6 separate regions of the Homo sapiens genome follow, and regions 1, 2, 3, 4 and 6 are each linked to region 5. Evidence: promoter capture Hi-C in human tissues and cell types (Jung and others, 2019). All regions are on one chromosome and are shown on one strand. The core of a region is centred on a gene start or on the middle of the fragment in contact, and the rest is flanking DNA. Distances in the headings are between cores, read along the strand shown.

Region 1 (4,453 bases), core at 625-3,124, 97 kb before region 5:
TGTAGAGGCCTCACAATCACGGCAGAAGGTGAAAGGCGTGTCTCACATGGTGGCAGACAAGAGAAGGGTGCTCGTGCAGGGAGACTCCCATTTTTAAAACCATCAGATCTCGTAAGACTTATTTGATATCATGATAACAGCACAGGAAAGACCTGCCACCATGATTCAATTACCTCCCACTGGGTTCCTCCCACAACACATTGGAATTGCGGGAGTTACAATTCAAGATGAAATTTTGGTGGGGACACAGCCAAACCATATCATTCTACCCCTGCCCCCACCAAATCTCATGTCCCCACATTTCAAAACCAATCATGCCTTCCCAATATTTCCCCAAAGTCTTAACTCATTTCAGCATTAACTTAAAAGTCCACAGCCCAAAGTCACATCAAAGACAAGGCAAGTCCCTTCCACCTAAAAGTCTTTAAAATCAAAAGCAAGATAGTTACCTCCTAGATACAATGGGGTTACAGGCATTGGGTAAATACAACCATTCCAAATGGGAGAAATTGTCCAAAACAAAGGTGATACAGGCACCAAGCAAGTCAGAAATCCAGTGGAGCAGTCAAACCTTAAAGCTCAAAAATAATCTCCTTTGACTCCATGTCTCACATCCAGATAACATTAATGTAAGAGGTGGGCTCCCACAGCCTTGGGCAGCTCTGCCTCTATGGCTTTGCAGGGTATAGCCCCCTTTCCCCATTCTGCCCCACCAGCTGCTTTCATGGGCTGGTGTTGAGTGTCTGTGGTTTTTCCAGAAGCACAGTGCAAGCTGTTGGTGGATCTACCGTTCTGGGATCTGGAGGATGCTGGGCCCTCTTCTCACAGCTCCACTAGGCAGTGCCCCAATAGGGACTCTGTGTGGGGACTCTGACCCTCATGTCCCTTCCACACTGCCCTAGCAGAGGTTCTCCATGAGGACCCCACCCCTGCAGCAAACTTCTGCCTGGGCATCCAGACGTTTCCATACATCCTCTGAAATCTAGGCAGAGGTTCCCAAACTTCATTTTTTGACTTCTGTGCACCCACAGGCTCAACACTACATGGAAGATGCAAGGCTTGGTTGGGGCTTCCACCCTCTGAAGCAACAGCCCGAGCTGTACCTTGGCCCCTTTTAGTCACAGCTGGAGTGGCTGGGATGCAAGGCACCAAGTTCCTAGACAGCACACAGCAAAGGGACCCTGGGCCTGGCACATGAAACCATTTTTCCCTCCTAAACCTTTGGCCCTTGATGGGAGGGTCTGCCTCAAAAGTCTCTGACATGCCCTGGAGACATTTTCTCCTTTGTCTTGGTGATTAACATTTGGCTTCTCATTACTTATGCAAATTTCTGCAGCCTCCTTGAATTTCTCCTCAGAAAATGGGTTTTTATTTTCTATCGCATTGTCAGGTTGAAAATTTTCCAAACTTTTATGCTCTGTTTCCCTTTTAAAACGGAATGCCTTTAACAGCAACCAAGTCACCTCTTGAATGCCTTGATGCTTAGAAATTTCTTCCACCAGAAACCCTAGATCATCTCTCTCAAGTTCAAAGTTCCACAGATCTCTAGGAAAGGGGCAAAATGCCACCAGTCTCTGTGCTAAAATGTAACAAGAGTCATTTTTGCTCCAATTCCCAACAAGTTCCTCATCTCCATCTGAGACCACCTCAGCCTGGATTTCATTGTCCATATCATTATCAGCATTTTGGTCAAGCCATTTACCAAGTCTCTAGGGAGTTCCAGACTTTCCCACATTTTCCTCTCTTCTTCTGAGCCCTCCAAAGTGTTCCAACCTCTACCTGTTAAAATGTAACAGGTACCTCTACCTGTAAAAATGTTCCAAAGTCCACATTTTTGGGTATCTTTTCAGCAGCACCCCACTCTTGGTACTAATTTACTGTATTAGTCCATTTTCTGATACAGTAAATTGGTACCACTGCTGACAAAGACATACCTAGACTGGGCCATTTACAAAAGAAAGAGGTTTATTGGACTTACAGTTCCACGTGGCTGGGGAGGCCTCACAATCATGGTGGAAGGTGAAAGGCACATCTCACATGGCAGCAGACAAAAGAAGAAGCTTGTGCAGGGAAACTCCCATTTTTAAAACCATCGGATCTCATGAGACGTATTCACCATCACAAGAACAGCATGGGAAAGACCTGCCACCATGATTCAATTACCTCCCACTGGGTTCCTCCCATGACACATGGGAACTGTGGCAGTTACAATTCAAGATGAGATTTTGGTGGAGACACAGCCAAACCATATCAAATCTGTATCTTACATATATGTCTATCTATGAGGCCTAGTCTTATCCATCTTTATAAATAAATATTTTCCATTTAACCCAAGAAAAAAAAAGACTAACTTATTATGATTCTTAAATAGAAGAAGGAAAGGAAGAAAGAGTGATGAGGAATTATAGAAGTGAAAAAGATAATGGATCTCAGAGAAAGCGTAGTCACAGAAGAAAATATAAGGTTGTTTCTGCCTGTATTAAACATAAACCTGGCTGGGCGCAGTGGCTCACACCTGTAATCCTAACACTTTAGGAGGCTGCAGCAAGTAGATCACCTTAGGTCAGGAGTTCGAGACCAGCCTGGCCAATATTGTGAAACCCTATGTCTACAAAAATACAAAAATTAGCCAGGCATGATGGCAGGCACCTGTAATCTCAGGTACTTGGGAGGCTGAGGCAGGAGAATCGCCTGAACCTGGAAGGTAAAGGTTTCAGTGAGCTGAGTTCATGCCACTGCACTCCAACCTGGGCAACAGAGTGAGACTCTGTCTCAAAAACAATAACAACAACAAAACAAAAACAAAAATGTAAACCTGACTTCAGTAGCTTAATAAAAGAGGAGTTTACTTTTTTTTTTTTTTCCATATAACAAGAAGTCCAAAGTCTGGCCATTAGAGATTAGCTAGCATTGGATTTAACCTTCTGTCATAAACAATTATAACAGATAAACAAAATACATTAAGCAACATTTTGTAGGCACTGGGTAGCAACCAATAGAGGAATATGACCTTGGCAGAAGAGGATAAGAAGTGAACCCCACATTGGTCCCAGATTTCTGCTTATGAGAATTTCCTAAACAACATCCTGGTGTAATACAACCAAACTTAGAGAATGATGGTTTCACTGGTTTTTTGAAACAGAGATTAAAATTTGGGACCGCCAGTCCCCTGGGATTTGAAGGGCAAGTATCAAAGAGTAGGAAGTCACAGAGAGAGAAACCCAAATATCTGCAAATATTCACCTGAAGTTCCTAATTCACTTATAAACTATGCAAATAAAGCTCAAGGATATAGTGGGCTACAGAGAATTGTTGGTAAGATAATGCAAACTAAAGAGAAATTTCAGGAATCACAGAGTGTTAAGTAAATGTGTCTGAGAAAATGGAGAGACCTTAATTTAAGTTGCAGAAAGACACTCCCCACACCCCACCATGAGTAAGTACTATGCTGCAGGTAGAAAAGATATTCCATGAAGACGGGAAATTTCAACTCACCCACAACAAACCTTAAGAAAGGTTTGAAATGATGGATACAATTCATTGATAATTTAACTACTGTCCAAACAAATATAAACTCTTCAGAAATATAATCCATATCACTCACAGCCTGTCACCTACAATATTGAACATACAGTAAAAAGATGAACAGATATTCAAAGAAACAGGAAAAAGTTATTGATAATCAAGAAATAAAAAGTCAGTGAAAGCTTGGTGCTGTGGCACGTGTCTGTAATTTCAGCTATTCAGGAGCCTGAGGTGGGAGGATCACTTGAGCCCAGGAGTTTAAGTGCAGCCTGGGCAACATAATGAAACTTCATGCCTAAAAAAATTTAAATAAAACATAAAATAAAAAATAAATGAAAAAATTTAAAAGTCAATGAAGATAGACCAAGAGATGATCCAGAGTTTAAGGTAGCAGACAAGGAATTCCAATTAATTGTGATAAATACGGAAAATAAAATAGGAAAACTGCTGGACAAAGTTGATGAAATTGAAATATTTGAACAGAGAATTATAATCAGAGTAAAAACCAAGCTGATAATCTAGCACTGGAAAATAAAAGACTCTTAGAATATAGCAAAGTAAACACAGCAGAAGACAAACTAGTGGACTTACCATCAGGAAAATGGAAAACAACTAAATTGAAGCAGAGATAAAAAATAATAACAAAATAAAAAACAACAAAATAGAGCACAAACTATATGCGGGACATAATCTAAAGAACTAACATATGTGTAATATGAAAGCCATATTTATATGGTGAAAATAAAGTGACAAATTCAAAGTACTGCAAAATAAAAAGAAACCAGATCCTTTGATAACCAAGAAATTATTAAATTTTCTATGCTGCGATTATCATGCATTGCACATGTATACCAAAATATCTCATGTACCCCATAAATATATACACCTATTATGTAGCCACAAAAATTTAAAATTTAACCATTAAAAA
Region 2 (4,226 bases), core at 776-3,275, 120 kb after region 5:
AAACAGGATAGACAAATTGATAAATAGAATAAAATAGAGAATTTAGAAATAGACTGCCACCTATGAAGTGACTTGGTGGTTGGCAAAGGTACCAATGCAATTCTATTGAGAAAGAGTGCTCATTTCAATAAATGGTACCAAAGTATATGAATAACCATATGAAAAAAATTGAACCTTCGGTCCTACCTCACATAGTATATATTTAAAAATTCTAGGTGGATTACAGACGTAAATGTGAAATACTCAACAGAGAAGCTTCTAGCAGGAAACACTGAGAGTGCCTACATGACCTTGGGATAGGCAAACATTTTTTAAGCTAAAGACAATAGATACACTAACTGTAAAAAAAATACTAAATTGTACTTCATATATACATATGTGTGTGCATAAATATATTCTTCGTTAAAAAACTAAGAAAGTTAAGAGACAAGCCACAGAATGGAAGAAGAAATTTCCAAATGAATATATCCAGCAAAGAACTCATATCTACAATATATTTTGAGATACCTTTATAAATTAATAAGATAAATGCAAACAAGAATACAAATGTGAACAAAAAACTTGAACAGGCACTTCACCAAATGAAATTACCTAAATTGTTAATTAGCACATGAAAAAGTGGTCAGTATCATTAATCATCAGAGAAATGTAAACTAAAACTACAATGTACTATTACTACACAACCCACCTGAAGAATGGCTAAAATTAAAAACTTTGACAATACTAAGTGTTGAAAAAGACACAGAGCAACTGTAATTCTCATATTGCTAACGGTATGTAAATTGGCAAAACCACTGAGGAAAATTCTCCATCTGTATCTTCTAAATCCTGTATGCCTATCCTCTGACCCAGCAATTCCACTTCTAGGTATATAACCCAGGAAAATGAATGTATATGTCCACCAAAAGAGATGTATAAGAAGGTGCATAGCAGCTCTTTTCTTAGTAGCTGATGAATAGAAATAGTTAAAGTGTCTACCATCAGCAGAATGGATAAACACATTATTGAATATTCAGACAATGAAATACTACACAGAAATTAAAAAAGAATGACTGCTGCTAACCACAGCAGCATGGATGAATCACAGATATGAAAGAAGGCAAATACCAAAGTGCATGTACTGTGAGATTTCATTTATAGCAAGTTCACGAACATGTAAAACTAATCTATGAGATAGAAGACATTAAAATGGTAGCATCATGGTGTGGGGGTGAGATCAGCTGGAATGAGGATGAGGGAGGATTCAGGGGTTCTAGAAATGATCTATATCTTGATCTGAGGATTGATTACACAGCATAAATAAATGAAAATTCATCAAGCTATAAACTTAAAATTTGTATACTTTATTTATTTTATCTATATTTCCTTTTCAAGGCACTGTTCTATGGTTTAAAATGTACATCCTTACCTCATCATCATTTACCTTCAAATAGTGTTATTCCACTTCACATATACTGTGAGAACCTTTCAGCAGTATATTTCCATTTCTCATTCCCTTTCTTTGTGTCCTTGTTGTTGTTCATTTTACTTCTACAGGTTATAAACTCCCATGATGCCTGCAATGTTTTGCTTTAAACAGTTAATAATCTTTTATAGGATATTTTTAAACTGAAAAATAAGGGTTTTGTATTTATCCACATATTTACCATATCTAGAACTCTTCATTTTGTATTGGTACAAATTTCCATCTGGTATCATTGTCCTTCTGTCTGAAGAGCTTCCTTTAACACATTTTGGACTTATAATAAATTCAATTTTTCTTTGTCTGGAAAAGTCTTTATTGTGCCTTCACTTTTTTTTTTTTTTTTTTGAGACAAAGCCTTGCCCTGCTGTCCAGGCCGAAGTGCAGTGGTGCAGTCTCTGCTCATTGCAACCTCCGCATCCCATGTTCAAGTGATTCTTGTGCCTCAGCATCCCAAGTGGCTGGGATTACAGGTGCGTGCCACCACACCTTGTTGATTTTTTGTCTTTTTAGTAGAGACGAGGTTTTGCCACGTTGGCCAGGCTCGTCTTGAACTCCTGACCTCAGGTTATCCACCCGTCTTGGCCTCCCAAAGTGCTGGGATTACAAACATGAGCCACTGTGCCTGGCCTATGCCTTCACTTTTAAAAGATAATTTTACTGGGTATAATATTCCATACCGACAGTTGTTTTTTGGTTGGTTTTCTTTTTCTTTTCCTTTTTCTTTTTCTTTTTTTTTTTTTTCTGAGACAGAGTCTCACTCTGTTGCCCAGGCTGGAGTGCAGTGGCGCGATTGCTGCTCACTGCAAGCTCTGCCTCCCGGGTTCATGCGATTCTCCTGTCTCAGCCTCCCGAGTAGCTGGAACTACAGACACCCGCCACCACGCCTGGCTAATTTTTTTGTATTTTTTAGTAGAGACAGGGTTTCACCGTGTTTGCCAGGATGGTCTTGATCTCCTGACCTTGTGATCCACCCGCCTCGGCCTCCCAAAGTGCTGGGATTACAGGCGTGAGCCACCGCGCCCAGCCTGGTTTTCTTTTTCTTTTAGCTCTTTAAGGAAGATTTACTACTATCTTCTGGTTTTCTATTTTCTCACAAGAAGCTGTTTATCATTCTTATCTTTGTTTCTCTTTATATAAAATGTATTTTCCCCCCTTTGGCTGCTTTGAAGATTTTCTCTTCACCACTGGTTTTTAATAAGTTGGTTATTCTATGTCCTGCTGTTTATTTTCTTTGTTTCTTCTGCTTATGATTCATTGAACTTGTTAGGTCCAGTTTTCATTAAATGTAGAAAAACTTTGGCCATTTTGTTTTAAATTTTCTGTCCCTACCTCTTCTCTTACTGAGACTTTAATTACTCATATATTAGACTATTTAATATTATCCCATAACTCACTGAGGTTCTGCTCTCTTTTTCTTTCTTTGCTTTTTTTTGTGTGTATTTTTGTCTCTGTGCTTCATTTTGGGTTGTTTTTATTGTTTTCTCTTCAAGTTCACTAGCATTTTTTTCAGCAGCATGATATGGTTTGGCTCTGTGCCCCACCTAAATCTCATGTTGAATTGTAATCCCCGCTGTTGGAGGTGGGGCCTGGCAAAAGGTGCCTGGATCATGGGGGTGGTTTCTAATGATTTAGCACCATCCGCCTTGCTGTCCTCATTATAGAGTTCTCACAAAATCTGGTTGATTAAAAGTGTGTAGCACTTCCCCCTTTGCTCTCTCTCTCTCCTGCTTCTCTGCCATATGAGGATAGTGCTTGCTTCCCCCTTGGCCTTCCACCATGATTGTAAGTTTCTTGACACCTCCCCAGAAGCAGAAGTCTGTTCAGCCCACACAACTGTGAGCTGATTAAATCTCTTTTCTTTATAGACTACCTAGGCTCAGGTAGTTGATAGCAGTGTAGAACAGACTGATACAAGTGTCTAATCTGTTGTTAAGCCTAGCGGTGCATTTTCTATTTCAGATATTATAATTTTTATCTCTACAAGTTTCATTTTTAATTTTTAAAATATGTTTCTTTCTCTCCCATTGTATTGTTTCCATCTACATTCTTGAGAACCTCTTTATAACAGTTGTTTTAACTTCCATTTCTGCTCTTCCCATCATCTCTCCATTTCCACGTCTGTTTCTATTCGTTGATTTCTCCTTGTTGTGGGTCATATTCTTCTGCTTCTTTGCATTCCTCGTAATTTGTGATTGAATGTCACTACTTTTACATTGTGAATGTGATGTGTTGGGTGCTGGGTTTTGTTAGATTCCTTTAAACAGTGGTTTAGTTTTTTCTGAGATGCAGTTAAGTTACTTGTAATAAACTTGATCCATTCAAGACTTGGTTTTAAGCTTTTCTTGGGACAGATCTACATGGAGTGATTGATTATTCTAGTTTGCCTGGGATTAAGGAGTTTTCCAAGACATGGGACTTTCACTGTAAAACTGGGATTGAAGAGTTTCTGAGAAATGGGACTTTTAGTTTTAAAGCTGAGAAAGCCCAAGGCAAACCGGGACAAACTGGTCGTCCTAGATCCAGAGCATGCTGTTGGCCAGGGATAATTCAGTCCCACTATGAAATTTTGAGTAACCTACCCATTTGACAAGGTCTTTACCCTCTAGCTGGTGAGCACATGGGTTCTTCCCAGCTCTGTGGATTCTGGAGATTGTTTCCTAATGGCTTTTTCCTGGCCTTGATTACTTTCCTTTCATGTATGCTCAAATTAGTTACTCAGCGAAAGACATAGATCTCCCTGGAGTTTGTGAGGTTTTTTGTT
Region 3 (4,356 bases), core at 1,279-3,778, 120 kb before region 5:
GCAGCAGGAGACAGAGAGAGTGAAGCTGGAAGAGCCACACACTTTTCAAGCACAGATCTTGTGAGAACTCACTGACTACCACGAGAACAGCATGAAGGAATACTGCCCCTACGATCCAATCACCTCCCATCAGGCCCCTCCCTCGACACATGGGAATTACAATTTGAGAAGAGATTTGGGTGGGGATGCAGAGTCAAACCATATCAAGTGAGACGGGGTGATTCTGAGTTGATCCTTTTCACACGAAGTGGTTTCCTACACCATCCCACATCCACCCATTCCAAGCAACCTCTAGTCATCTGTTAAGACTCAACTCAAATATTTCTTCTTTATCTACTTTAGACTGAGATTTTTTTTTCTTTATCCTCTAAGATATGGGAATCACAGCATTATGTGCTAACACTGATCATAGTCCTTGTCATAGGAGTTTTGAACCTTGAATTAATTCTATATTTTCTCTCTTTTTATGTTACTTGAGGCAGGAGATACAAAGTCTGCATCTAGATTTAGAGGGTAGATTTTGACATTGAACTGATATGCCATGCATGTTTGTTAAATGAATAATTAAAAGAATAAATGTTCTCTCTAATATATTAAATATCCATATCTATTGTTTTATTTAATAAGGCACTATAATCTTTCTTCATAAATTATAATTTTTTATTATTATATTTTAAGTTCTGGGGTACATGTGCAGAACGTGCAGGTTTGTTACATACGTATACACGTGCCATGGGGGTTTGCTGCACCCATCAACCCATCATCTACATTAGGTATTTCTCCTAATGCTATCCCTCCCCTAGTCCCCCAGCCCCGACAGGCCCAGTGTGTGATGTTCCTCTCCCTGTGTCCGTGTGTTCTCATTGTTCAACTCCCACTTACAAGTGAGAACATGCGATGATTGGTTTTCTTTCCTTGTGTTAGTTTGCTGAGAATGACAGTTTCCAGCTTCATCCATGTTCCTGCAAAGGACATGAACTCATCCTTTTTTATGGCTGCATAGTATTCCATGGTGTATGTGTGCCACATTTTCTTTATCCAGTCTATCACTAATGGACGTTAGGGTTAGTTCCAAGTTTTTGCTATTGTGAACAGTGCCACAATAAACATACATGTACATGTGTCTTTATAGTAGAATGATTTATAATCCTTTGGGTATATATCCAGTAATGAGATTGCTGGATCAAATGCTATTTCTAATTCTAGATCCTTGAGGAATCGCCACACTGTCTTCCACAATGGTTGAACTAATTTATGCTCCCATCAACAGTGTAAAAGTATTCCTATTTCTCCACTTCCTCTCCAGCATCTGTTGTTTCCTGACCTTTTAATGATTGCCATTCTAACTGGAGTGAGGTGGTATCTCATTATGATTTTGATTTGCATTTCTCTAATGACCAGTGATGATGAGCATTTTGTCATAAGTTTGTTGGCTGCATAAATGCCTTCTTTTGAAAAGTCTCTATTCATATCCTTTGCCCACTTTTTGATGGGGTTGTTTGGTTTTTTTTCTTGTAAATTTGTTTAAATTCTTTGCAGATTCTGGATATTAGCCCTTTGTCATATGGATAGAGTGCAAAAATTTTCTCCCATTCTGTAGGTTGCCTGTTCACTCTGGTGATAGTTTCTTTTGCTGTGCAGAAGCTCTTTAGCTTCATTAGATCCCATTTGTCAATTTTGACTTTTGTTGCCATTGCTTTTGGTCTTTTGGTCATGAAGTCTTTGCCCATGCCTATGTCCTGAATGATATTGCCTAGGTTTTCATCTAGGGTTTTTATGGTTTTAGGTCTTACATTTAAGTCTTTCATCCATCTTGAGTTAGTTTTTGTATAAGGTGTAAGGAAGGGGTCCATTTTCAGTTTTCTGCATATGACTAGTCAGTTTTCCCAGCATCATTTATTAAATAGGGAATCCTTTCCCCATTGCTTGTTTTTGTCAGGTTGGTCAAAGATCAGATGGTTGTAGATGTGTGGTGTTATTTCTGCAGCCTCTGTTCTGTTCCATTGGTCTATGTATCTGTTTTGGTACCAGTACCATGCTGTTTTGGTTACTGTAGCCCTGTAGTATAGTTTGAAGTCAGGTAGTGTGATGCCTCCAGCTTTGTTCTTTTTGCTTAGGATTGTCTTGGTAATGCGGGCTCTTTTTTGGTTTATTTGAAATTTAAAGTAGTTTTTTCCAATTCTGTGAAAAAAGTCAATGGTAACTTGATGGGGATAGCATTGAATCTATATATTACTTTGGGCAGTATGGCTATTTTCACGATATTGATTCTTCCTATCCATGAGCATGGAATGTTCTTCCGTTTGTTTGTGTTCTCTTTTATTTCATTGAGCAGTGGTTTGTAGTTCTCCTTGAAGAGGTCCTTCACATCCCTTTTAAGTTCTATTCCTAGGAATTTATTCTCTTTGTAGCAATTGTGAATGGGAGTTCACTCATGATTTGGCTCTCTGCTTGTCTGCTATTGGTGTATAGGAATGCTTGTGATTTTTGCACATTGATTTTGTATCCTGAGACTTTGCTGAAGTTGCTTATCAGCTTAAGGAGATTTTGGGCTGAGATGATGGGGTTTTCTAAGTATATAATCATGTCATCTGCAAACAGAGACAATTTGAGTTCCTCTTTTCCTATTTGAATACCCTTTATTTCTTTCTCTCTCCCTTCCCTTCCCTTCCCTTCCATCCTGGCCAGAACTTCCAATACTATATTGAATAGGAGTGGTGAGAGAGGGCATCCTTGTCTTGTGCCAGTTTTCAAAGGGAATGCTTCCAGTTTTTGCCCATTGATTTGTGGATGTTGAACCAGCTTTGCATCCCAGGGGTGAAGCCGACTTGATCATGGTGGATTAGCTTTTTGATGTGCTGCTGGATTCGGTTTGCCAGTATTTTATTGAGGATTTTCACATCGATGTTCCTCAGGGATATTGGCCTGAAATTTTCTTTTTTTGTTGTGTCTCTGCCAGGTTTTGGTATCAGGATGATGTTGGCCTCATAAAATGAGTTAGGGAGGATTCCCTCTTTTTCTATTGTTTGGAATAGCTTTAGAAGGAATGGTACCAGCTCCTCTTTGTACCTCTGGTACAATTCAGCTGTGAATCCGGACATTTTTTGGTTGGTAGGCTATTCATTACGGCCCCAATTTCAGAACTTGCTATTAGTCTATTCAGGGATTCAACTTCTTCCTGGTTTAGTCTTGGGAGGGTGTATGTGTCCAGGAATTTATCCATTTCTCCTAGATTTTGTAGTTTACTTGCGTAGAGGTGTTTATAGTATTCTCTGATGGTAGTTTGCATTTCTATGGGATCCGTGGTGATATTCCCTTTCTCATTTTTATTGTGTCTATTTGATTCTTCTCTCTTTCCTTCTTTATTAGTCTGGCTAATGGTCAATCTATTTTGTTGTTGATCTTTTCAAAAAAGCAGCTGCTGGATTCATTGATTTTTTGAAGGGTTTTTCATGCCTCTATCTCCTTTGGTTCTGCTCTGATCTTAATTATTTCTTGTCTTCTGCTAGCTTTTGAATTTGTTTGCTCTTGCTTCTCTAGTTCTTTTAACTGTGATATTAGGATGTCGATTTTAGATCTTTCCTGCTCTCTCATGTGGGCATTTAGTGCTATAAATTTACCTCTACACACTGCTTTAAATGTCTCAGAGATTCTGGTATGTTGTGTCTTTGTTCTCATTGGTTTCAAAGAACATCTTTATTTCTGCCTTTATTTCATTATTTACCCAGTAGTTATTCAAGAGCAGGTTGTTCAGTTTTCATGTAGTTGTGTGGTTTTGGGTGAGTTTCTTAATCCTGAGTTCTAATTTGATTGCACTGTGGTCAGAGAGCCTGTTTGTTATGATTTCCGTTCTTCTGCATTTGCTAAGGAGTATTTTACTACCAATTATGTGGTCAATTTTAGAATAAGTGCATTGTGGTGCTGAGAAGAATCTATATTCTGTTGATTTGGGGTGGAGAGTTGTCTAGATGTCTATTAGGTCCAGTTGGTCCAGAGCTGAGTTCATGTCCTGAATATTCATGTTGATCTTCTGTCTCATTGATCTGTCTAATATTGACAGTGGGGTGTTAAAATCTCCCATTATTATTGTGTGGGAGTCTAAGTTTCTTTGTAGGCCTCTAAGAACTTGCTTTATGAATCTGGGTGCTCTTGTATTGGGTGCATATATATTTAGGATAGTTAGCTCTTCTTGTTGCATTGATCCCTTTACCATTATGTAATGGCCTTCTGTGTCTCTTTTGATATTTGTTGGTTTAAAGTCTGTTTTATCAGAGACTAGGATTGCAACCCCTGCTTTTTTTTTTTCTTTCTATTTGCTCAGTAAATCTTCCTCCTTCCCTTTATTTTGAGCTTATA
Region 4 (4,242 bases), core at 44-2,543, 65 kb before region 5:
TCATTAGAAGTAGATATAAATATGACCGCAAACCACCCATATGTTGTTACTCAGTTCACTGCCTATGCGATAGCTTTGCTCCACAAGGAGCAGTCACAGAGACTTGACACTGCTGCCACTTCAGTAAAGCTGCTTTCTTTCATCACCAGCCTGCTCTTGAATTCTTTTTTTAAGTAGGGACAGGATCTTGCTATGTTGCCCAGGCTGGTCTCGAACTTCTGGGCTCAAGCAATCTTCCTGCCTGGGCTTCCCAAAGGGCTGGGATCACAGGTGTGAGCCACCACGCCCAGCCTTGCTCTTGAGTTCTTTCCTGAGCAAAGCCAAGAATCTGCCCTGCATCGGTGATGAGTCAGCCAGGAGTGAAGAGAGGATGGTGGTCAGTGATTGATGAGGCAATGGTGAGAGATAATGGTTGGTGAGATAGTGAGAGATGGCAAGAGACAGCAAGCAGTGAGAGAGACAGCAAGAGGCAATGATCAGTGAGACAGCGAGAGATGGTGAGGAAATTGGTCATCAAAACTGCAAGAGCAGTAACACTAAGACTGTAATACCAAAGAGCTGCTAACACTGCAGAGAGGTGTAACATCAACCAAAGGCTCTTTTCAGAGCCATCATTTTCCTTCCTCCCTTCCTTCCTTCCTTCCTTCCTTCCTTCTTTCCTTTCTTTGTCTCTTTGTCTCTTTCTCCCTTTCTGTCTTTCTTTTCTTTTGAGATGGAGTCTTGTTCTGGTGCCTAGTCTGGAGTGCAGTGGTGCGATCTTGGCTCACTGCAACCTGCAACCTCCGCCTCCTGGATTCTCCTGCCTCAAGTGATTCTCCTGCCTCAGCCGCTCGAGTAGCTGATATTACAGGCACCCACCACCATGCCTGGCTAATTTTTGTATTTTTAGCAGATATGGGGTTCCACCATGTTGGACAGGCTAGTCTAGAGCTCCTGACCTCAAGTGATCCGCCCCCTTATGGCCTCCCAAAGTGTTGGGGTTACAGACGTGAGCCATCGTGCCTGGCCAGAGCCGTCATTTATCCTGGCAGGCAGTGGAGCCAAGAGGACAGGCAAGTGGCCAGAGCACCGCCTGATGTGGGACCTACCAGGTTGCTGATCTCCACACTTGTTCCCCTCTAGCAGCCAAGCCCACCCAAGCTGGGGGTCACCTAGGCAGGCCTTCACCCAGTTCCACAAGCCTGGCTGGCACCATTTTGGCTCCTGCAGACAGTTGTCTCCATTGCCAAGTAGGTTCTGTGGTGAATCCGAGCTTCCAAGGTCTCCCCTTGAGAAATGCTGTTCACCCCTTCCCTTCCTCCCTTCTGTGTTTACTTTCTGTTTAGCCCCTCTCTGCCCAAACTAAGATGCTTTCATTGCTCTCTGTAGAATTCACTCTCGTCATTCTACTACCCATTCATAGCTCATAATTGGCTTTTGTAATGCTTTGCTACCTATACTTACACCTTCTTTGCAAAAAGTGAAAATTTGAAAGGAAAATGTGACTAAGCTTTTGCTAGACTTAGACTAACTACAAAACTCCTGTAGAAATCCTTACTAGACATGGGGACAGCAGTGAGCATCCCATAGGCCTTGCCACCGGGATGTCTTTTAGGCAAGTGGAGGAAATTCAAATCTGATGATTTAAAGAGGAAAAAAACCTCATTTTCCATGGCAACACTGAGTCGAATACAAATTGGGGAATCAACAAATTTGGCCTAGAAATGGCTCTTTATGTTATAATGCTATTTTACAATTAGATTTATTCTGTAAAAAGAAAGGAAAATGGGGAGAAGTTCCTTATGTGCAGGCTTTATGGCCCTCTACCAAGATCCTGACCTAAGAGATAGCTGTAAAATGTGTCTGGCTCATAACACCTCTGGCACCAAGAAGCTACCCCAGATATCCTGGATTACCCCTTCCTAGCTGCTCCAGCTAGAACGCCTACAAGCCCGCCTTGGAGATTCCTCAGTCCTTCAGTTCTAAGAAGGTTCCCACCAGTTCTCTAGCACAGGATTCCACTCCAAGGTCATCAAGAACTTCTCCCCCTTATCCAACAGATCCCAGCCTATGCCCCCTGCTGCCCAAGGAAGCAAGCCCAACCAGTACCACCAGCAGTAGGGTCCCGTATCAGCCCCTCAAATCAAACCTGTGTCCGTATCAGCAGGTAGTTGACAGAGATGGTGGAAAAATCAGAATATATGTACCTTTTCCATGTCCAATTTGGCTTTATGCAAGAAAATGTGGCCAGTTTTCAGAGGATCCAGGGAAGTTTGTACAGGAGTTTGTTAAATTGGCCATGTCCTTTGATTTAAGGTGGCATGACATGCCAATATCATTATCCACTTGTTTTGCCATAGAAAAAAACAAAACAGGCTGGGCACGGTGGCTCAGGCCTGTAATCCCAGCAATTTTGGAGGCCAAGGCGGATGGATCACCTGAGGTCAGGAGTTCAAGACCAGCCTGACCAACATGGAGAAACCCCGTCTCTACTAAAAACACAATAATTATCTGGGCATGGTGATAGGCACCTGTAATCCCAGCTATTCAGGAGGCTGAAGCAGGAGAATCGCTTGAACCCGGGAGGCAGAGGTTGCAGTGAACCGAGATAGCGCCATTGCACTCCAGCCTGGGCGACAAGAGTGAAACTCAGTCTCAAAAAAAAAAAAAAAAGAAAAAGAAAAGAAAAGAAAAAAAGACTCTAGATACTGCCCACGAACATGCAGATGGAGTGGCTACTCGTAACCAAGGCCATACCATTTACTGTGTGGAGGGGGGTGAGGCAGTTCCAGATCAATTCCTAAGATCTTGAATGCAGAAATCACATACTAACTCATTTAATAGAAGGCATGAAAAAGTATGTGGTCAAGCCAGTTAATTATGACAAGATTAGAGAAATAACTCAGGGGAAAGATTAAAATCCTCTGACAGAAACACAATCCAGATCCTTAATTTTCTGGGAAAACAAGGTGATATGGTTTGACTGTGTCCCCAGCCAAATCTCATCTTGAATTGTAGCTCCCATAATTCCCACGTGTCATGGGAAGGACCTGGTGGGAAGTAATTGAACCATGGGGGTGGGTCTTTCCCATGCTGTTTTCATGATAATGAATAAGTCTTATGAGATCTGATGGTTTTATAAAGGGGAGTTCCCCTACACAAGCTCTCTTGCCTGCTGCCATGTAAGACATGACTTTGCTTCTCATTTGCCTTCTGCCATGAGTGAGGCCTCCCCAGCCATGTGGAACCGTGAGTTCATTAAACCTCTTTTCTTTATAAATTACCCAGTCTCAGGTATGTCTTTATATCTCACACATTAGCAGTGTAAGAACAGACTAATACAGAAGGGTACTGGGTATCTCCCCACAAGGCCCAAATTTCTGCCCAAAGGGTGAAGTATCTGAGATGTGTGTTTATTCCTGGGACAAAAACCTTAGCCCAGGAATAGAAAGAGACCATTCTGGCACTCCAGCCCACTCAGACTAAGAAACAGTTAAGTGCCTTTTTGGGAATGGCCAGATTCTGCCATATTTGTATTCCCAGGTTTGGGATCATATCAAAACCACTCTATAAAGCTCTAAAAGAGTGTGATCACAAGCCTTTGAATTGGGACAGAACCTCACAACAGGCATTCTTAACCCTAAAAGAAATGCTGGGAACATGTCCCAAACCTTTCACTCTCTATGTGACTAAAAACAAAGGACATCTTTGGGTGTTCTAGCTCAAAGGCTCAAGAATAATCCTAAACCAGTGGCTTACTTTTCTAAACAGCTAGGCCAGTTGGCAGCTGGGTGGCCAGGATGCTTTTGAGCTGTGCCCACCACTGCTCTGTTGGGGGAAAAAAACAAAAGGCAGTAAATTTACCTTGGAACAACAATTAGATGTCATTATCCTTCCCCCAACCAAATACAGGGGGTCCTAGAGGCAAAAGGACATCAATGGCTAACAGGTAGTCAGTTGTTTAAATATCAGGCCCTTCTGCTTGACACCACAGATGTTACCTTAAACTATGTCAGGTTTTAAACCTGCTACTCTGTTGCCAGACTTCACATCCCAAAAAGCAGATCCCCAGCTCATTTATTCCTCTGTGGAAACCACAGATCAGACCTATTCTAGCAGGTCTGACCTCAAAGATGAGCCCCTGCATAACCCTGGTATTGAGCGGTTTACAGGCAGGAGCAGCTTTATTCATGAGGGAGTAAGAAAGGCAGGCTGTGGTTGGGCATGGTGGATCAAGCCTGTAAGCCCAGCACTTTGGGAGGC
Region 5 (4,251 bases), core at 981-3,480:
TCAGGGTCTGGTGTGGTGGCTCACGCCTATAATCCCAGCACTTTGGGAGGCCAAGGTGGGCAGATCACGAGGTTAGAAGTTCGAGACCAGTCTGGCCAACATGGTGAAACCCTGTCTCTACTAAAAATACACAAATTAGCCAGACGTGGTGGTGGGCGCCTGTAATTCCAGCTGCTTGGGAGGCAGGAGAATTGCTTGAACCAGGGAGGCGGAGGTTGCGGTGAGCTGAGATCGCACCACTGCACTCTAGCCTGGGTGACAGAGCAGGACTCAGTCTCGATAAAAAACAAACAAACAAAAAACAGAACATCTGGCAACTCTGGGTGGGTCTCCATTCACATATGGCAAAAATCAGTTGGAGCTGAGCAGTGACTGTCACCTTAGGCAGGTGTGCATACCTCAGTCTGTCACAAGCCCCATCCCTCCTTTCTATTATACCCTGCCAACCTCACTTAGTACATGACTACCCGGCCACGTCGGTATTAAAGTTTGTGATCCTTCAGCTAGTCTTATGCCCTCTTAGTTACTGAGGTTAGAGTCACTCCCTCTTAGTTACTGAGATCATGTACTAACGCTCATGCAGTAAGTGGAAGATGCTGGGTAAGAACCTTCCCGATCTTGGAAATAGTACCATTACTCCACAGTGGCTCAAGCTAAACACCTAGGAGATTTTCTTCTTTCATCCCTTTACGTCAACCCCTGTCATAGTCTATTTTGTGCCAATATAACAGAATATCACAGACTGGGTAATTTATAAGGAACAACAATTTATTTAGCTCATGGCTCTGGAGGCTGGGAAGTCCAAGATTGAGGGGCTGCATCTGGTAAGGGCCTTCATGCTGAGTCACCCCATGGCACAAGGCAGAACAAGAGAGCAGCAGAGGGGTGGGGAGAGGGCCACTCCTGGCATTAATGGAATCACCTCTTAAAGGTCCCACCTCTCAACACTGTTGCATTGGGGATTAAGTTTCCAAGATATGAACTTTGGGGAACATATTTAAACCATAGCATCCCCTAAATCCAGCCTAATCCATCATCAAGCCTTCCTGTGCTACTTTTGACACACATTGCAGGAGGTCCACCTTTTCCGTATCTTGCTGTCACCACCCTGGTCTTCATCACCATAATCTCTTGCCTGAATTGTTCCCTCCAGATTGATATGACAAAGCCCTGACCCTCACGGTGGCCTACAAGGTTCTGGGTGATGGTGATTCCACACTAGTCTACCTCTCTGGCTGTAACCCACTCTCCCCTTGCTCACCTCACTCAGCCACCCTGGGGGCCAGTTCCAGCTTCAGAACCATGCATCGGCCGACCCCTCTGTCAGCAATGCTCTTGCTTCAGCCCTGGAATCGTTTTTGTCCTCCAAGTATCCAATATCACAAGCGGCCCGGAGACCACCCTAGGTATAGCAGTCCTAGACCCCTTTCTTTTTCTTTTCTTTTTTTTGGAGACGGCATCTAGCTCTGTTGCCCAGGCTGGAGTGCAGTGGCTCTAACTCGGCTTACTGTAACTTCCACCTCCCGGGTCCAAGCAATTCTGCCTCAGCCTCCCGAGTAGCTAGGACTACAGGTGAGGGCCACCATGCCCAGCTAATTTTTGTATTTTTAGTAGAGACGGGGTTTTATCATCTTGGCCAGGCTGGTCTTGAACTCCCGACCTCGTGATTCACCTGCCTCGGCCTCCCAAAGTGCTGGGATTACAGGCGTGAGCCACAGGCACCCAGCCGACATTCTCTTGTTTTTTTCGTTTGTTGTATATAACCTACCCCCACCTCCACCCCATGCAAAGTCCACGAGGACGATAGACTTTGTCTTGTTCCCTGTTGCATCCTGGCCCTAGGGCCTAGCCCACAACCTGGGACATTTCCTGACAAGGGGCCCTGGTTTCTCTGAGGTGCCACCTGAGGTCCGGGAGGTCAGCTGACTTTCCCAAAGGTGGATTCCAAGGACACTGCATTCTTCGCACTCCCCGAGGGGCGTCTAGACACTCCTGGGACCCAGAATTATTAGCTAACTGGGCTCCTGAGTCCGGTGAGAGCTCAGAGTCTAGAAGCAACTTTCCCTGCCTGGAGAGGTGAACCCAGCAAGGCGTTGGGGAGAGGCGTGGGCGAGGGAGTGGGCGCGGGTGGGCGGGGCCGTCCGGGGGCCTCGTTGCCCGAGCCAATGGGGCGCCGCGGCGCGGGGAGGCCGGGCCGCCGGGCGGGGGCGCTCGCGCGCGTTGAGGGGCAGAGGCTGAGCTCCCGGGACCCGGAGCGGATCGACTGGCGGGCGCCGCGCCGAGGCACCACCGGGCGCCGAGTTCCTGGCGGCTCGCACGGTAAGCGGCGCGGCGCCGCAAAGTAGACTTTGTGGGGTTTCTGACAGCCGGGAGACCCCACCTCGAGCGGGGGCTGCTGGTGCGTTCTCGCGTCGGGCTGCGTCCCCTGGAGCTCCGGCTCTGTGTCCGCGGGATGCGGGCGCACGGAGGGGCAGGGAGGGAGGCAAGGAGCCGCGCACCACGGTGTCTCCCCAGGCTGCCGCTGCCGGGGCCCTGGGCCGGTCCCTGGGACAGACAGATCGGCGTGCGGGGGCCGTCTGCCGGGCCCGGGAGCCGGGGGCGCGCAAGACTGTGGATCCTAAGACTGCCTCCACCCAGCGCCCGGCCCGGGGAAGAGCTTGCGGGAAACCAGGAACCGCAGCGGCCGGACCTCTGCTCTGCGCCGGCTCCTAGGACCTGCCTTAGGTCCCCAGACCCCTCATGACCTGTTGCCTTGGGTTTGGGAGGTCAGGTTTGTCATGCCATTTCCGATTTCCAGTCATCCTGGGGGCAGGATGAAATTTCAGAGTGGTTTCCTGGCCAAGCTAGAAGCAGAGAATAGCTATGGATACAGCACCTCGTGTATCTATCCAGCACTTACTTGGCTTTTTCTGAGTGCCAGGAACTGTGCCAAGCCCTAGCAGCATGAAGAATGGCCTTTGGGGAGCTTCTGGGGCTAAGAGGGACAGTAGGAGGAGCAATTGCAGTGCAGGGTAGTGCGGAAGACTCGAGATGGAGAAGAGGACGGTGAGGAAGCCAGGAAGGTTTCAGAGAGGAGGTGAGCATTGACTGGAAGTCGGAGGTTTTGCCAGGCTGAAAAGTGTGTTGGGACTGTGAGTTGATAGGGAGCAGGAATTCCAGGTGGGTTTTCTTGTGTAAAGGTAAAGAAACTGAAAAGGTCCGGTGTCCTGACCTAGCACATCAGATAATTCTACAGCAGATAATGGAGTAGGACCGGGTCTTGCTGTAGGTAGGAAATGAGCTCTCGACATGGCAGGAAGCTAAAACCTGCACAGACCTTAAAGTGCAGCCTTAGAATATTTAGAATTTTATCCTGGAATGAAGGAGGGCCGTGGAAGAATTCTGATCAGTGATCAGGTCCCTCTGGCAGCTCTGGGGACAATGGATGGAGGCCGGAGCATCAGAAAGCTGGTAAGTTGTAGTTGTTTTCTGGTCCTTGGCTGCAAATACTCTTCCCTGCTTAAGGGAGCCCCCTCTGCCCGGGAGCCCTGCTCCCTGGCTTCTGGACATGGATTCAGGCAAAGAGATGCTGCCCGTGTAATGCTTGCTTCTGCAGCCTGCACATCATTTTGATATTGTTTCTGGAGCCTGTGACCTCAGTCTTGTCATCAGGCCTCTGAAGGGTGCCTCTGCTCTTCTTTTCTCATCTTCAAGCCCTCTGTGTGCCCTTCCCCTCTGCCTGGGCTCCCCTTTCTGTTTCACAGAGATCCAGTCTCAGCCATTGGAGGCAAGGCTGTGTGTAGATTGGTGTAGTAGAAAGAACAAGGGCTCGCTGGGAAATCAGACCAGAAAGTCACTTTAGCCATAGGCTTTGGGGACATTAGCAACCTTCATGAACCTTCTTTTTCTGATTTAAAAGGAAATCATTGTACTCACCTGTCATGGTTTGGGTTCCCTGGAAAAAGACTTGGCGCTTCTGAGATTTTTGTGCAGATAAGGGAAGCAGAACTGGGCAGAGGGAGATGTTGATCTATGGTGCAGTGCAAGAGAGGTCTCAATCCCTCCCATGAGACAAAGAGACGAGGCCTTTGAAGCTTAATGTTGATCAGCCAGTGGGTGCAGGCTGGTCCTAGGGAGGGAGCTAGGATGTCCCTTCAGCAGGACAGTTCCTGACTAGGGACTCACCTGGGAGCTGGGGTAACCAACACTCTGGCAGCTGGACATGGGGAAGTCATGAGTGTCTTGGTCTTGGAGGGGGAGTTGAGCATTTCC
Region 6 (4,163 bases), core at 72-2,571, 76 kb after region 5:
TAAATATTAGACATATGACCCATAGGTTTCCATTTGTCGCTTTGCCCCAGGCACTTCAAATACTAGACATGGGCTTGTCCTGGTGTCTGGAATTTGCTGATACTACCTTTAAGGATTACGATAAAATTCACAAACTGTATGAAAAGATTCTCTTTGCATGAGGCTGTCCACATGGGTATTTATTTGAAGACCATTGCTGAAAGAAAAAAAAAATCAAAATCTTGCTTTCGAGTCATACTAATAGTTCCTTTCCTACTAAACTACCGCCTAGTTGACATCTAAGCCCATCAGGACGTAAGAAAAAGTGGTGCTAATATCAGAGCTGTCAGTCAGTTTTGGGAAGAGATTAACTCCACCAGCATCAGCTAAGAGTAGGTAGAGAGACTTTGGAAGCAGACAGGCTGAAGCAGTTAGTGAATTTGTAGAAAGGATTCTTTCACAAATGGAAGGCTGAAAAATAATGGGTGATGACATCCATCTTCCAAGGAAAAGAGTAGGAGACTAAGAAGGTTGTTTAATGCTTAAAAAATTATCCATTAGAAATAAATCATGTGGCTGCATCCAGCTGATGGGAGACTTGGGGTACACATTTTTATGTACCAATCTGTCAACTCTCTTACTGTGGGAAAAGGGGAGAATGAGTATTAGGAAGCAAAGAGCTGTCTCCGTCCCAGAGAAGGTTTATGGAAATGCTTAACACAATGCTCAGTTCACAGCAAGTCACCAAGAACTATTAGTGTCATCATACCAATAATCAAAAAGAGAAAATGGAAACTTTGTTACTTTTTGTGAGACGATATCCAAACCTATAAAGACCCCAATTTTCACTGCTATTTTTCAGAGTTGAGCAAAAGCACAGATATGGAATTAGAAGTCCTGGGTTCAAATCCCTTAGGCAAAATATTTAGTCTCTCTGGGTTTCAGTTTCTTCATCTGTAAGTTGGAAATAATGATATCTACTTCGTGGTGGTGGTTGTGAGTGTTAATGAGAAAGGCTGTAGGTTAAACTCTATAGCAGAGTTTCTAGCACAAGAGTTGATACTCAACAAGTGTTTTTTCATCAGTCCATTCACTCATGTATTCATTCAACAAATATTAATCAATTTCCTACTATGTGTTAAGCACTCTGGTAGGTGTTAGGAAGAAAGTGATGAATACAATAGGTTATTTCTGACCTCAAGGAGCTGTGGTATAGTTTAGTGGTACACAGACATTAAACACAGTTACTAATTATAATTATTGTTGTAATAAATAGTATGAAAACAATATGAAGAGACTCTCAGTATAGAGATGAATCATAGGTCAGGATTAGGGTGCTTATGGAGAAAAATCACCAGGTAAATGAATTTGAGAAATAATTAAAATGTAGAATCAGTGAGTGTAGGGATGATGTCTAAACAATGGGTAGATAGGGATGTCATGTACTGATGATGGGGAAGACAGAGGCAGGGATGTAGAAGGAAGTCTGTGGAAAGAAGGAAGGAAGGACGGACGGATGGCAGATAGACAAAGGAACAAATGAGGACTGCTTTATTAGACAAATAGAAAAATAGAGAAATGGGTGAGACTGGATAGATCAATAATAAATCTTTGGTGGAGTATGTGGGGCATATAGGTATAACTCAATAAAACAATACTGCATTATTTATTTTTGTAGGATTCCCTTTTTTGAATAGTTAGAAGATTTGGATAATGGGCGTCACTAAAACATTGATTTTTGTTGAGAGTTAAAATGCCATAACATTTTTAATGTTAAAAGAACACAAACATATATACTTGAGAATGAAACTGGATCAAACAAAACTGTATTTTCTAAAGTCTTTAAATTACACACTTTCTAGCAATCATCATTCTTTTATACATTCAACATATTTCTGAAGACTAAATTGGAGGGTTGGAGGATACCAAGATAAACCATGTGTGGTTTTGCCTTCAAAGGGTAGGGGAGACAGGATTAACATATATGTGAAGATAACATGATGAAAATCATGAATTTAAGAAAAATATGGATAAAACACTATAAACATCCTTTAATTCTTTTAAAATTGATACATAATAATTTACATATTTATGGGGTACGTATTGGTGTTGTGATACATGTAACGTATAATGATTAGATTAGGATAGTCAGCATAGCCATCATTTCAGACCTTTTTATGTGGGATCCTTTTTCTTATTTAATCCTCAAAGTAACCCTTAGAAATATGTAGCACAATTATTATTATTATTATTATTATTATTGTTTGAGACTGAGTTTCGCTCTTGTTGCTCAGCTGGAGTGCAGTGGCGTGATCTTGGCTCACCGCAACTTCTGCCTTCCGGGTTCAAGCAATTCTCCTGCCTCAGCCTCCCGGGTAGCTGTGATTACATGCATGTGCCACCATGCCTGGCTAATTTTGTATTTTTAGTAGAGATGGGGTTTCTCCATGTTGGTCAGACTGGTCTCGAACTCCTCACCTCAGGCAATCCACCTGCCTCGGCCTCCCAAAGTGCTGGGATTACAGGCGTGAGCCACAGCGCCCGGCCTGTAGCAAAATTATTAATATCATTATTTTACAGATGCTAAAACTGAGATGCAGAGAGGTCAAGTGACGTGACAGAACTAGAACTTGAGCCTCCAATCTTATCCACCATCTCCCCTCTACCACACACCACCTATAAAGAATGAGAAAATCGGCCAGGCGCGGTGGCTCACGCCTGTAATCCCAGCACTTTGGGAGGGCGAGGTGGGTGGATTGCCTGAGGTCAGGAGTTTGATACCAGCCTGACCGACATGGTGAAACCTCATCTCTACTAAAAATAAAAAAAATAGCCGGATGTGATGGCAGGCACCTGTAATCCCAGCTACTCGGGAGGCTGAGGCAGGAGAATCGCTTGAACCTGGGAGGCAGAGGTTGTAGTGAGCCGAGACTAGGCCATTGCACTCTAGCCTAGGCAACAAGAGTGAAACTCCGTCTCAAAAGAAAAAAAAAAAAGACTGAGAAAATCAGTAGTGAAGGTGGGAGGAGACAGTAGGATGGCTGAGGATGTGTCTCAATATGCACCTCTGGGGTAAGGCCTTTGGGAGAAGGGAGAAAAGAGTAAAACAGCCTGCATCCTTACTCAGCTGATTTCTTCCCCTTTACAGGTCGAAGTATTTCCATGGGAAGAAGGTGAATGGAGAGATTGAGATCCGAGTGGAGCAGGTAGGTGGGAGCTGTGTCTTTAGCACTGTCAACTGACCTTTTCTGCCGCTGGGGCTGTTCTTACATGCAATCTTGGTCCCCATCTTATGTGGTCATAATGAGCCAAGATTACCAGAAAAGTCCAAGCTTATACTTGGGAGTCTCATTAAATTTCAGAATTGTTTGGGCCAGTGGTTTCCAACCTTTTATGTTTTAGCAGAGACCCTTTCTTCAAGGGAAATGTCAAATAGGAACTCATTCTACAAAAGAGAGACACGTAGAGCTGCTCTGATGGAAATGGGCAGGTGGAGCCCAACTTCTGTCTGTTCTATACCGTTCCTTTTGGCCCCTGGGGCATCTCCTTGCAGCCACCTGGGCTAGAGAGCATAGTTTAGGAACATAATGAAGGGCCTTGAATCCTGCCTCTCTCATTTTCTAGGTTTTGGGTAGGTGACTTAATCTCTCTCTGCCTTGATTTCCTTATATCATTGTGGGGATTAAATTATTTAAAACCTCAGAAGGGACCAGAATTGCAAATACTATCTCTTGCTATTGCTATTAATATCAATATCCAGGTCCCTCATTTTATGTGGAAAGAAACACAGATTTTTTTAGGGCTGTGTAGGGAGGCAGTGGCAGAATCAGGAGTGGAAGGTGTGGTCTCCTGGCTCCAGATCAAAGCTTTCTCCTGTTCGTTCCGCGAGGACCTCCTCTCTGCCAAACACTGTGCTCAGCCTTAGGAGAGCACATTTGAGCATAGGTTCTGGAGCCATACTCCAGGTTTGAATCCTAACACCGCCCCTTACTAACCTTGTGACCTTGGTTGAGCAATACTTACACTCCCTCCAGTTCAATTTCTTCATCTGTCCAACTGGGGCAATAATAGCATCAGCCTGTGTTCATAGGGTGCTGTGAGGATCAAACGAGTTAGTCCATGAAAAGTGCTTGAACAGTACCTGGCACATACTGGGCACTTAGTAAATGTTACCCATTTATCAT

What was found. Contacts are between HindIII fragments. The study calls those that stand out against the background at their distance.
Region 1: a fragment that was not itself captured here is called in contact with the fragment with the promoter of SYN3 in region 5 in 3 of the 25 tissues and cell types used here (adrenal gland, bladder and mesendoderm cells).
Region 2: a fragment that was not itself captured here is called in contact with the fragment with the promoter of SYN3 in region 5 in 2 of the 25 tissues and cell types used here (IMR-90 fibroblasts and lymphoblastoid cells).
Region 3: a fragment that was not itself captured here is called in contact with the fragment with the promoter of SYN3 in region 5 in 5 of the 25 tissues and cell types used here (heart left ventricle, hippocampus, lymphoblastoid cells and 2 more).
Region 4: a fragment that was not itself captured here is called in contact with the fragment with the promoter of SYN3 in region 5 in 4 of the 25 tissues and cell types used here (H1 embryonic stem cells, liver, mesendoderm cells and 1 more).
Region 6: a fragment that was not itself captured here is called in contact with the fragment with the promoter of SYN3 in region 5 in 2 of the 25 tissues and cell types used here (IMR-90 fibroblasts and spleen).

What each region holds. Positions count from the first base shown.
Region 1 is chr22:33,152,580-33,157,032 of GRCh38, reverse strand. It overlaps a transcript of LARGE1 not described here. Among named protein-coding and RNA genes, the nearest start is that of LARGE1-AS2, 9.5 kb to the left of the region's middle. The HindIII fragment of the contact is 4,788 bases long and covers 1-4,268 here.
Region 2 is chr22:32,936,512-32,940,737 of GRCh38, reverse strand. The region is part of intron 3 of SYN3 (synapsin III); the gene reads left to right. Among named protein-coding and RNA genes, the nearest start is that of SYN3, 120 kb to the left of the region's middle. The HindIII fragment of the contact is 4,443 bases long and covers 1-4,226 here.
Region 3 is chr22:33,173,614-33,177,969 of GRCh38, reverse strand. It overlaps a transcript of LARGE1 not described here. Among named protein-coding and RNA genes, the nearest start is that of LARGE1-AS2, 12 kb to the right of the region's middle. The HindIII fragment of the contact is 8,863 bases long and covers 1-4,356 here.
Region 4 is chr22:33,120,770-33,125,011 of GRCh38, reverse strand. It overlaps a transcript of LARGE1 not described here. Among named protein-coding and RNA genes, the nearest start is that of LINC01640, 14 kb to the right of the region's middle. The HindIII fragment of the contact is 9,037 bases long and covers 1-4,242 here.
Region 5 is chr22:33,056,360-33,060,610 of GRCh38, reverse strand. SYN3 (synapsin III) reads left to right here and starts at 2,230. Exons shown (of 14, transcript NM_003490.4): 1 at 2,230-2,319. The HindIII fragment of the contact is 13,516 bases long and covers 1-4,251 here.
Region 6 is chr22:32,979,667-32,983,829 of GRCh38, reverse strand. SYN3 (synapsin III) reads left to right here. Exons shown (of 14, transcript NM_003490.4): 3 at 3,128-3,185. Among named protein-coding and RNA genes, the nearest start is that of SYN3, 77 kb to the left of the region's middle. The HindIII fragment of the contact is 4,515 bases long and covers 1-3,578 here.